4 separate regions of the Homo sapiens genome follow, and all the other regions are linked to region 1. Evidence: promoter capture Hi-C in 16 types of primary human blood cells and fetal thymus (Javierre and others, 2016). All regions are on one chromosome and are shown on one strand. Each heading gives the region's core, a stretch centred on a gene start or on the middle of the fragment in contact. The rest is flanking DNA. Distances are from core to core; before and after follow the strand shown. Region 1 holds the start of LEO1 (LEO1 component of Paf1/RNA polymerase II complex). Region 2 overlaps MYO5A (myosin VA). Region 3 overlaps MYO5C (myosin VC). Region 4 overlaps MYO5C (myosin VC).

The links. Contacts are between HindIII fragments. The CHiCAGO score rates a contact against its expected background, and 5 or more counts as called.
Region 2: a contact is called between a fragment that was not itself captured here and the fragment with the promoter of LEO1 in region 1, in 1 of 17 cell types (total B cells). The highest score is 5.1, in total B cells.
Region 3: a fragment that was not itself captured here is called in contact with the fragment with the promoter of LEO1 in region 1 in 1 of 17 cell types (endothelial precursors); the score reaches 5.7 in endothelial precursors.
Region 4: a contact is called between a fragment that was not itself captured here and the fragment with the promoter of LEO1 in region 1, in 1 of 17 cell types (naive CD4 T cells). The highest score is 5.2, in naive CD4 T cells.

Annotation. Positions count from the first base shown.
Region 1 is chr15:51,970,233-51,973,190 of GRCh38, reverse strand. It overlaps LEO1 (LEO1 component of Paf1/RNA polymerase II complex), which reads left to right and starts at 1,413. Exons shown (of 12, transcript NM_138792.4): 1 at 1,413-1,503. The coding sequence starts at 1,446. It also overlaps a transcript of MAPK6 not described here. RefSeq lists enhancers at 1,144-1,719, 1,367-1,896, 1,720-2,296. The HindIII fragment of the contact is 6,227 bases long and covers 672-2,958 here.
Region 2 is chr15:52,361,946-52,364,947 of GRCh38, reverse strand. It overlaps MYO5A (myosin VA), which reads left to right. Exons shown (of 42, transcript NM_001382347.1): 24 at 246-394. Among named protein-coding and RNA genes, the nearest start is that of MYO5C, 68 kb to the right of the region's middle. The HindIII fragment of the contact is 217 bases long and covers 1,629-1,845 here.
Region 3 is chr15:52,242,926-52,245,750 of GRCh38, reverse strand. It overlaps MYO5C (myosin VC), which reads left to right. Exons shown (of 41, transcript NM_018728.4): 18 at 286-397; 19 at 1,184-1,395. Among named protein-coding and RNA genes, the nearest start is that of MIR1266, 33 kb to the left of the region's middle. The HindIII fragment of the contact is 4,253 bases long and covers 1-2,825 here.
Region 4 is chr15:52,259,160-52,262,277 of GRCh38, reverse strand. It overlaps MYO5C (myosin VC), which reads left to right. Exons shown (of 41, transcript NM_018728.4): 10 at 1,151-1,416. Among named protein-coding and RNA genes, the nearest start is that of MIR1266, 16 kb to the left of the region's middle. RefSeq lists an enhancer at 1,503-2,078. The HindIII fragment of the contact is 2,769 bases long and covers 1-2,677 here.

The DNA of each region.
Region 1 (2,958 bases), core at 164-2,663:
TGATTACATACCCAGTCCCACCCATTTGGACCCTGTTAAGCACTGAAGTTTACTACAAAAATATATATCATATAATCTCCAAACTAAATATTCATTGTTGCTTGTCCAAGACCAAAACTCTCATAATGGCCTAATTAGGTAATGTAACACAGGATGTACTCTTTTCTCACTTTTTCTTCTAAGAAACAGAGCCTTACTCTGTCACTCAGGCTAGAGTGAAGTGGCGTGATCATAGCTCACTGCAGCCTCCAACTCCTGGGCTCAAGTGATCCTCCATTCTCAGTTTCCTGAGTAGCTAGGGCTACAAATGCATGCCATCATGCCTGGCTAATGTTTTTATTTTTAATTATTTTATTTTATTATTATTATTTTTTTGAGATGGAGTCTCGTGCCCAGGCTGGAGTGCAGTGGCGCGATCTCGGCTCACTGCAAGCTCCGCCTCCTGGGTTCACGCCATTCTCCTGCCTCATCCTCCCTAGTAGCTGGGACGACAGGCGCCCACAACCACGCCCGGCTAATTTTTTTTATTTTAGTAGAGACGGGGTTTCACCGTGTTAGCCAGGATGGTCTCGATCTCCTGACCTCGTGATCCACCCGCCTCGGCCTCCCAAAGTGCTGGGATTACAGGCGTGAGCGACCGCGCCCGGCCAAAAAAATGGTCATTTAAAGCTTAAAAAAGCTGTTTGTTAACATGTATATTATTTTTAAATGAATTAGTAACTTAAAAATTTATTACCGTATTAGTAAGAATACAGTAAATATCAATACCCGTACCTGTAATCCCAGCACTTTGGGAGGCCGAGGCGGGCGGATTGCCTGAGCTCCTGAGTTTGCGACCAGCCTGGGCAACACGGTGAAACCCCGTGTCTACTAAAATACAAAAAATTAGCCGGGTGTGGTGGCGGGCGCCTGTCGTCCCAGCTACTCGGGAGGCTGAGGAATTAGAATTGCTTGAACCCGGACAGTGGAGGTTGCTGTGAGCCGAGATCGCGCCACTGCACTCCAGCCTGGGCGACTGAGCGAGACTCCGTCTCAACAATTTTTAAGAGGGTAAAGGGGTTTGGGATGAAATAACTGGAGAACAGCTGCTCAGTAAGAAACAAAGGGCTTCAATCCTGACTCGCGATAGGTTTAATCCAGCCAGAGGCCCTTCCCCAGAGAGCGCCAGTCACCGCCCACCCCATCCACACCCGCAACCGAACGCAGGACCCCCCCGCCCCCTGGTAAGAATCCTGGCAAATAACAGATATTGACGAAATGGCCGGGCTTATATACCATGCATACCCAGGCGAGAACAGGTTCACTGGGCGAGCGAAAACTAGGTCACGTAAGGAAAGGAGTGTCTTCGGCGAATCTTTGCGACACTGTCGTGTTTCAGTGGTTCCGTGCCGTAAAGAGAGGCCGGGAGCTGCCCCTAACCGAGGCAGCAGCGGACGTGAGCGATAATGGCGGATATGGAGGATCTCTTCGGGAGCGACGCCGACAGCGAAGCTGAGCGTAAAGGTGGGTTCGCTGGTCTTCGGAGGATGGGTGCGTGGCAGGCCTTCCGCTGTGGGAGCCGGACAACCGTGGAGGCTCCAGCGCCGCGGGCAAGAGGTGGCGTTTCCTCCACTCCTGCCTCAGCGCCCCCTGCACTCCCGGAGGTGCCATCCTCCTCCGGCGGGCAGGATGGAGAGTCAGACAGTCTGCGCCTCGAGGCTCTGGGTGTCGGTGGAGCAGACGGTTCCTGGGAGCTTGTGGAGCGAAAGGGGCGCGGGGCATGGGTGGAAGTGCAGGCGAGCCTGCGCAGCGCGGGTAGGAACGTTGGAGTCCTGTTCCGCCTTGCCTTGCACAGGCCAGCGTAGAGTAAGGGCTGTTTTTGAATGAATGGAAATGAATGCAGGAATATGGGATGGGGTGGGCGAATTTACAGAGGGCCTCAGAATGCCGTCTTGAATGAAACCAGAGCATGGTGTGATAGGGAGCTTGAGATGTCTGGATGACGAGTCTGGGACGGATAATGGGATGGGGTTACAGATAGATGTTTCACATAGGAGAGAATGTGTTCTCTAAGAGCTTGTGCAGAAACTCCAGAATTTCCGGAGTCTGTGATGTTAGATTGGGGAGTGCATGGGGTCTGTGTACAGAGAGGAGGAATGAAGGATTTGTTGATGAAATGAATGAATTAGTGTATGTGCATGCTGCTTGGAAGTTATTTCTGGCACAGGATTGTGGGTGTTTTTTTAAAGTTTACTTTTTTAGAGACAGGGTCTCACTGTGTTGCTCAGGTTGGCCTTGAACTTCTGGGCTCAAGCCATCCTTCTGCCTCAGCCTCCAAGTAGTTGAGACTACGGGCACTTGAAATATGAATAGGAGCTATTTGAAGTGAGAACCCAAGACCAAGTTCAGAATTCTTGCAACCCTCTAGGCTCCAAGTAAAGTGAGTCTCTTGTAGACAACATATATCTAGTTGTTATTTTCATCACCCCCAAATAAAACACTGTTCATAAAGCACTTACTCCTCATATGCTCCTTCCTCCAACCCCTGTCTGCTATTGTTTCTGTACTTATCTGTTCTGGGAATTTCATATAAATTGAATCATGCATTGTGGTCTTTTGTGTCTGGTTTCTTTTACTTAGCATAATGTCTTCAAGGCATTGTAGCACATATCAGTACTTTATTCATTTTTAATGATTTAATAATATTCCATTGAATGTGCACACCCTAAATTTGTTAATCCATTTATCTGTTGATGGACATTGGGTTGTTTGAATAGTGCTACTGTAAACATTCCTGGTTCCGGCAGGCGGATTTGCCTGAGCTCAGGAGTTGAAGACCAGCCTGGGCAACATGGTGAAACCCTGTCTCTACTAAAAATACAAACTGTTAGCCAGGTGTGGTCGTGCGTGCCTGTAGTCCCAGGTACTCAGAAGGCTGAGGCATGAGAATCACTTGAACCCAGGAGACAGAGGTTGGCA
Region 2 (3,002 bases), core at 488-2,987, 390 kb before region 1:
ATCAATTAGTGGTACTAAGGCCAGAGTACATGGAATAACTCAGTAGATGATTGTTATTATTAATAAATTATTTCATTTTTTGGTCATTTTTTCTTTTCCTAAATTTTACTAAGACACTCTTCATGGATCACAGTGATACTAAAAGTAAAATTGCCTACAGAGAAACTGGAAATCAGTATACATGTTTACACAATTGCATTCTCAAGGGGCCATCTTTAGTATGCATATCCTTTTTTTAATTTCAGAAACTATGGAGAAGAAGTTAGTAGAAGAAACGAAACAACTGGAACTCGACCTTAATGATGAAAGGCTGAGATATCAGAACCTTCTGAATGAGTTCAGTCGCCTGGAAGAAAGATATGATGACCTCAAGGAAGAGATGACCCTTATGGTGGTGAGTCAAACACTTTTGTTTTTTTTTTAATGAAAAATTTTAAACATATACAAAAGTAAATAGAATAGTAGAATGAACCTCCATATCTTCTGTGTACCTACCACCCAGTTCCAGAATGTTCAACACATATTCACCTCCCATTCCATCTCCCCAACCCACTCCATCCAATGGATTGGATTATTTTAAAGCAAATCTTAGAAATCATATAATTTTATTCACAAGTACTTCGGTAAAGTCAAACAGTTTAAAGACTGGGCTATGTGATAGTATAAAGTCAGTAAAGTTGGATTTTTGTTTTTGTTTTTGTTTTTTTTTTTGAGATGGAGTCTCCCTGTGTCACCAGGCTGGAGTGTAGTGGCACAATCTCGGCTCACTGCAACCTCCGCCTCCCAGGTTCAAGTGATTCTCCTGCCTCAGCCTCCCGAGTAGCTGGGACTACAGGTGCCCACCACCATGCCCAGCTAATTTTTTGTATTTTTAGTAGAAATGGGGTTTCACCATGTTGGCCAGGATGGTCTCGATCTCTTGACCTCATGATCTACCCACCTTGGCCTCCCAAAGTGCTGGGATTACAGGCATGAGCCATTGCGCCCGGCCAGTTGGACTTTGTTTTATATATTGAATGGCCTAATGTAAAATTTACATGTAGACTGGTTTTGATTATAATTTTGAAGATATATTCCTATGAAAAGAAAATTCAGACTCCATTTGTAATGAATTATCTATTTCAAGGACTCTTCTGCATTTGCCAATGTACCTTTCATACTTGTAATAATTCTGCACATCCTCCCCATTCCATGTATCCTGCTATCAGGAAACAAAGAGTTCCCAAGCATCCCTACAAGTACCAGCCTTAAAGGTAACCTAATTATACAAATGACCAGAAATGCCCTGAAATATCTCATAAAAAGCCAGATAATTCAGTATCTGTGGAGCAGAGTATTTTCTTCAAATTTTGCTTCTATCTGGACCTACTGACAAAGTTCATTACAATATGACACTTAAAAGTCAAAATAAAAGAGATTGTGTAATACAAAAGATAGGCTCTCATCACCTTGCAGATGAGAAAATCCTGTCTAAAAGAGACCAAAAAGCTAATATAAATCCCACATTGGACCATTATTTCAACCCTCACTACTCTGATTTATGTGTGACAAAGAGAAATTAGAAGTAGATGCAAGTCACCATTATAACTGTTCTTATAATTGACAAATCTAAAGACCCTTGTTAAGCTTCATCTTCCTAGATCACCGTGCTACCGTTGGTCCCATTGAAACCTTTCTTCCTTCACATTCTGTAATTCTTAGCTTTCTCTTGAATCCTTTTCTTCTTTTTCAGTGTTCATGTTCCCCAGTTCCATTCTTTGGTGTGTTTTTGTTCACTCTATTTATTAGATGACAATGCCAACATTTATGGTTAATCTCTGTTTCAGTTATGGTTAGAGCTAAGCTTTATAACCCAGTAGGTGTTTCTGAGACCCCCTAGTTATTTGGGATGTTAATAAGTGGGATTGGAAAAGAAATTCTTAGGTAAAATAAATGTGGTAATCTACTAGGTTAAACAGAGATAAACAAATGTCTTTTCTGGAGAATTTCTTGGATTCTTTAATGGTGCATGCAATATGAATTTCAGAAAATAAAATGAGAGAAGCAGGTGCCATACATGTATCCCTCTCTGAGCATATTCCAGAGATATCCATCTGTGAGGAGGTCATGGGTCTCTTTAGTCGAGGAGGTGGCCATTTCTAGAAAGGTCCTCCAGTGACGCCTCCTCCAGCAGCTTGACACGGCTCCTCCTTCCTGCTAAGCAAGTCTGCCTGCTCTCCATCTGTTCCCAGCAGTGCTCTAGAGGTAGTTTTAGTTGCTCAATTTCTTATTTCTCAGTCATGTGTCCTCTCCATTGTATGCCTGTGACTCAGTCATTCCTCTTGGGAGACAAAATGGTCAGAGGAAGGGAAAAGGAGAAAGCAGAGGAAGGGAGATCAGAGCTCACTTGCTTCCCACTCATTTCTTCACTAGATCTCCTTTTCCTAGCTCCAGATATAATCAAGATGACAGTTTTTGCAGAAAATATTTGCCCAGAATTGCAGAGAATAAAAAACTTGATCTTTTAACCCATGACAATTAAAATATTAGTGACAATATCTTATTTTAATGTTTAGGTACAACTAAACAGCTAACAGATGAGTACTTGACTAATATTAGACTGACGCTGTTCTGTAAATGACACTCTCACTGCTTCAATCCAGAGCTAATGAAGCATTTGGTTGTAAACAGAGTCGTCATATGAATGGAGGAAACTCTAGGGAGGGGACTTGATACACTGCCTCCAGCGCTTCCCATAACCTATGTGATACATGGGCCAAAGAACACTAATAGTGTCACTCATTGCCAGCCTCTAGAGTTGTTGGCCCTAGTACAAGAAGTACTGTAGCATTTTTCTCCAAGAACATTCGGTTGTCCAGGGAATATAGGGGCAGAGGCAAAGAGGAAGGACCAATCCAGGGCTAAGGAGTTTCAAGCCAATGATGAAAAGATCATGAGGCATGGGCATCCAGGTTTATGAAGTGTTTAAAGATAAATTAATTCCAGAGAGGGGAGGGAAACCA
Region 3 (2,825 bases), core at 95-2,594, 270 kb before region 1:
CCATCACTGCATCTCGGCTGCTGGTGGTGGCCCCACCGCCTCCCCCGTGTACTAGGGAAGACGCTGAGTGGGAGAAAGAGCACAATTGCTGGGGCAGACAGGAGTGCTCAGGGTGGTCTTGGTAGTGTCCCAGGCAGGCAGGGTATCAAAGATCAGTGCCTTTATCCTCAGGACAGATTGCACCACCCCCGCCCTATGACAACAGTGGCAGGTAAGGCAGCGGAGTCCCCAGACACAATGTGCTTCCTCTGACACTCCTGGCTTTGATCCCCTTTGATTTTCCAGGTGGACATACATCGAGTTCTACAGTCGCTACGGCATTCTCATGACCAAGCAAGAGCTTTCCTTCAGCGATAAAAAGGAGGTGTGCAAGGTGGTTTTACACAGACTCATCCAGGTCAGTTTCCCCACCTCCTGGGATCATGGTCTCCTTCCTGGAAGCACATCTCCCAAACATGCTGTTTCATCTTTGTCTTGAATGCTCAGGACTGTAATCATGAACACCTGAAAGGAAAGAAAATGTGCCCTGAGCATTTGTCTGCTGAAGAGACCATAGCAGAGTGCTCAGTGGGCCATGAGTCCCCGTTAGGGACCCACATCCGAACTCCGGCCTCCCCAGTGTCCTCGTATCCTGTTTAGCTCTCCCACGATCTAACCCAGTCCTCTGTGGACCAGGCTTATAGGATATGGTCAACTGGGGTTGTCACCAAGCCACATGGGCTCCAGGCATGGTGCCTTGTGTGGATTGACATCATTGCTGCAGCGATGAGTTGTGATGGGAAAGAGATGGGGAGTTATAAGGTCCAGCAAAGGGGATGGTGAAGAGAACCCAAAATGGAGACAGAAAACCAAACTTCCCCAGTTTCTTCTACTCCAATGTGGAGACCACGAGAGAGTGGCTGAAGTTCTCTGGCAGCCCAACTGAGAATCGCCGCAAATGACACTCACTCCCCTTCTCACCCACAAATGGATTCCTCAGCCTAAGTCCCATTTCTTCCTCCAGGGTAATTTTAAACAAACAACTCAAAGTATACATTTCTAGATCATGATGTGAGTTTTCTGCCTTAAATGTCAAAATCACAATATTTCTGGCACCTTTGAATCCCTAAAGCTCTTTTCCAAATACTGTATTATAGAAAATCTGACAGATTTTAATTCTAACTATATCATTTTTCTCTTCCAGGATTCTAATCAGTACCAGTTTGGTAAAACCAAAATTTTCTTCAGAGCAGGACAAGTGGCTTATTTAGAGAAACTTCGATTGGATAAACTGAGGCAGAGTTGTGTTATGGTACAAAAGCACATGCGTGGCTGGCTCCAGAGGAAAAAATTCCTCCGAGAGAGACGAGCCGCCCTGATAATCCAGCAGTACTTCCGGGGTCAGCAAACTGTGAGGTATGTTGGAATCAAGGAACACATGTGGAACTGTGGGGCTTTCTGTGCTGATCATCTCCGGCGGGGAGGACTCATCAAGGACAAGGGACCTTTCTCCTGTGACCCAGGGTGCAGACGTGCATGGGTCCCCTTTGTGGTCGTGAGCATTAGGGCAAGAAAGGTCCGTCTCTCAGGGGCAGGTAGTGCTGGCTCTGCCTGGTGTCTGTGTGGTGAGCCGACACCCAGGGCCCTGCAGGGAGGAAGCGCTGGTGAGAGTGTTACTAAGGAGAGTCAGGGTTCCGGAAGCTCAGGGAGAGGCCCGGGGCCCCTTTCCTATGGGAACTGAAAATGCATAAGATCAGCAAGGCCCTAGTGAAGATCCAAAGGACAGATGTCAAGAATAGCCAGCGACCAGCCTGCCAGCAACAGGTGGGGTGCACCATGGCAGAGGGGGTCCCTGCAAGGCCTGGCAGCAAACCAATCACAGAACCCCTAAGCAGGAAGACCACAGCAGCCCCAGCCAAGCCAAGGGCTGAGGGGAGGGTGGTCCACCAGCTGCGCTGATCCTACCTGCCTCGAGGGGTCCTGAGAGTCCACACAACCCTGCCAGCCCACTGAAGGACCACGGTCATTCCGGGACTTCCAGGGCTTTGGTGTACCTGCTGGAAAGCACAAGACCAGGGTGCCCCTAGATAAACTTTGTGTTTCTCTCTGCCTGCTCTGCCCCTTCTTTGGGATGCTGTGAGGATGCTTGAGAAGGCCGGCGTTTAGGGTCAGGCTGCGTCTGCAAGCCTGACTTCTTCCTGAGCTGGAGGCTGAACTGTGGCAGCATCTGGCCTTCTCTGCATGACCAGCGTGGTGTGGCATGGATCACACAGCTGGGCTGGCTTGCCCTCCTGTGCTTCTGTGCCCAGTTGATAACAGCAGTCTTTGGGGAAGGAAATCACAGTTATCTTACCCGCCAAGGCCACGCTCCCTTCCCATTTGGGGCTCACCAGAGCCTGATCATCCTGCCCTGCTGGCCTCCTGCCTATCCCATTCATTTCATCCCACTCCTGCCCCCAGTTTAGGCTCACGGCATCACCTGCCTTGCACTCTGATGGCACCGTGCTCCACCTCCCACCTCCTTCCCATCTTCCTACATCAGAGCCTGATTGAGACACTGCCCTGCACCTGCCTTTAAGGCCCGTGTTTCCTACAGAATAGCATTCAGTCTCTGACGTGATATTCAAAGCCCTCCATAGCCTGGGTGCATTCATAAGAATGGAAGCTCCATGAGGGCAGGGGCCACACTTGTCTGGTCATTCATACCCAGACCTAGCATGGTGGCTGTCATAGAAGGTGTTCAACAAATATGTTTTTAAAATAACAAATGGTGCACATCTATTTTTCTAACCTCATTGACGTCTAATTTTCTTCATCCATCTTATTCTAGTGATTCCAAACAAACT
Region 4 (3,118 bases), core at 44-2,543, 290 kb before region 1:
AGTCCTATAATTATTGGTCCTAGATTTGGGATCCATCTCCACCCATTTGTATCAGGAACTTGAAATGTTGGACACGTTAAATTTGGACAAAGCCATCTGACTTTTTGAAAAGCTGCCGCCCCTTTGCATTTTTTTCCCATAGCAGCACCTGCAGCTGAATTGTTTTTGACTCAGAAGGTTTCATTCTTTCTTAGAAGGAAGGAAACCAAATGCCACTGCCAGTCCCTTCCCTTATAAGGTCAGGCACGTCAAAGCCAGCTCTGTGTTACTGTGATATTGGTCAGCAGGGGGTGTGGGTAGAGCGCAGGGAGGGGCAGGACTGTTTCCATGGCTTCCTACACTGTGTCCTGAGGCTTTTTAGTGCAATCATGTAGATTTCCTGGTGGGCTGGAATGGTGCCGGCAGGGGAGCCTGCCTTGGGAGTTCTCCTGCCTGAGAGAGGAGCTGGGAGTCACATCCTTGCCTGAGGACAGGAGCCCTTTGTCCACACTGGCTGAAGGGAAATGGGAGCACCTCTTCCCTTTTTTCATCTGCTGACCAGCGGGGCAGCTCTCATGCCCTGGCTTGGGGGAGAAGCAAGATTTCACTTTGTGTATTCAGGAAAAGTCCCACCCCAGCCCTCGTGTCAGCTGAGGCACTAGCTCAGCCATGGGACTCCCACCAGCTTCTGCCTGGCAGCAACACCTGGGTACCTCCTGGACCAACCATCCAGGCAAACCCCTGGCCACACGAGGTGGGGCAGGGTGAGTGCACACTCTGACAAGTGGCCCAGGATGGTTCAAAGGGAAGAGAGAGGGCTGCATCCACATCCACAGGAACAGGGCAGGGTCTAGAGAGGGTGGCCTCTATGGCCTTAGTCACCGCTGACATTCTTTGGTTAAAATGAAAAATCAGCGTGGGACGCAGCCCTGGACTCCCTGGCATTGCTGCAGGGGTGGTCTGCCAAGGGCCAGGTGCAGGACCCGTGCTGCTGTAGCCCCCTTGCTCTACTCCCAGGTCTATCTCCACCTCCTGAGGCTGGGCGTCCTTGTGCCAGCTACTACTCAGCTCTTGCACAGGCCTGAGTGTGGGCACGGGGGCCTTGGCCGGGTGGGATTGTGTGTCTTTGGATGGCTGGGCCACCTGACGGGGCTTGTGCTTGTTTTTGAAGGAGGATGACAGTCACCTGAAGGTGTTCTGTGAGCTCCTGGGCCTGGAGAGTGGCAGAGTTGCTCAGTGGCTGTGCAATCGCAAAATCGTCACAAGCTCTGAGACGGTGGTAAAACCCATGACCAGGCCTCAGGCTGTCAACGCCAGGGATGCACTGGCCAAAAAGATCTATGCTCACCTGTTCGACTTCATTGTGGAGAGAATTAACCAAGCGTTGCAGTTTTCAGGCAAGCAGCACACTTTTATTGGTGTTTTGGACATTTATGGGTAAGATTCTCTTCAGTGAGCCTGTCTTTCCTCCTTTAAATGTTGAGAGCCGCATGGTTTTTAGATCATTTTGTTCTGGTTCTTTTGTATTTCACATGATTAGAAAGATAACATTCTCTGCTTTTGCCCCTATAGATGCTAAGTACACTCTCCTGGGCTATGGTGCCATTTATTCAAAGTGCATTAAAGAGATGCTGAATTAGGAATGACCAATGTCAAGAGCTTACTGTGTGCCAGCTCTGAGGCTGCTTGGCTTCCATGGGCTTTCTCACTTAATTTCTTAAACAACCTTATAACTATCCCCGTTGTAGAGCTGCAACAACCAAGGCTTAGAAAGACTCAATAACTTCGTCACAATTGCTCCGCTGGTGGGAGAACCCAGCACAGTTGTGAGGCTCCTGCTTTTGCTTTTCCCACCAAAGGCCCCTGAGGTGTGGAGCCCCAAGGTCCCTTCCCATTCGAATCACAGGGGATGACAAGTCACCTAGGCTTGCACCTTGCCCAAGCCCAGCGGCCAGAGGTGGACTGAACCCAGGTCTCTGATCAACCACCCCCCTACCCCAATCCTTTTCCGTTCTTGGGTGAGAAGGTCTTGGATTTTCCCCAGCCCTCCTCCAGGAGGTCTTACCCTTCATCCCACCCTGGAGTTGGGTTCTTTTTCATTCTCTCTGCCTGGTCCTCCTTTTCTAAACCCCGGGCTCAGCTCGTGCTGAAACAGCTATGGAGTAACCAGAGTGGAAGCTGGCATGGAGGGCTCTGTGGAGATTGTTATCCTTCAGGCTTTTCTAGCAGCTGGCCCCAGTGCCCAGCCCTTGCCCCTCTCCTGGGACCCACCCTGGTTTCTTAACAGGAGAAGGGGAAGATTGACCCATGAAAGGCATCCTGGAGTGTTCCACCTGGATTGGGGGATCTTCCCCACACCATGGCAAAAAGCAGCTCAACCCCATTCCCCATGCAAAGGGGAGAGCTGAGCTCTGGCCTTCACGGCCCTGCTGCTGCCTCCTGGGGAGGAGGGGGACAGGGCCACACCACGCTGTTGGACTTGCACCCAGGTGGAGAGGCAGCTTTTCCCATAGCTGTCAAATGGGAGACAGTCAAGGGAGCTGCTTTGTTTAATTTAGATCCTAAGTTAATACATATGGCTCCCAATTAATAGTACGTGTCAACAGTTATAAAATGCTTAATACATTACTGGGATAGCCTAGTCAATTATTTACCTTGTCTTCTTCCCAGAAAGTGTTTGAGCAGCCAGTTAAAAGCTTAAGTGAACTTTTAAAAATGGATAGTCCTCATTAAAAATAGTCCTGTTTCATTGTGGTGGAAATACGTAATTATTCTGTTATTCCCTGTTCTTTTGGGTGTTTTTAAGATGTATTTTTAAATGACAGTCCTTTATTTTAACAGTATATTATTTCTTTCTTTTTTTTCTTTTTTTTTTTTTTGAGACGGAGTCTTGCTCTGTTGCCCAGGCTGGAGTGCAGTGGCACCATCTCGGCTCACTGCAACCTCTGCCTCCCAGGTTCAAGCGATTCTCCTGTCTCAGCCTCCTGGGTAGCTGGGACTACAGGCACCTGCCACTACGCCCGGCTGATTTTTTTTATTTTTAGTAGAGACTGGGTTTCACCGTATTAGCCAGGATGGTCTCGATCTCCTGACCTTGTGATCTGTCCATCTCGGCCTCCCAAAGTGCTGGGATTACAGG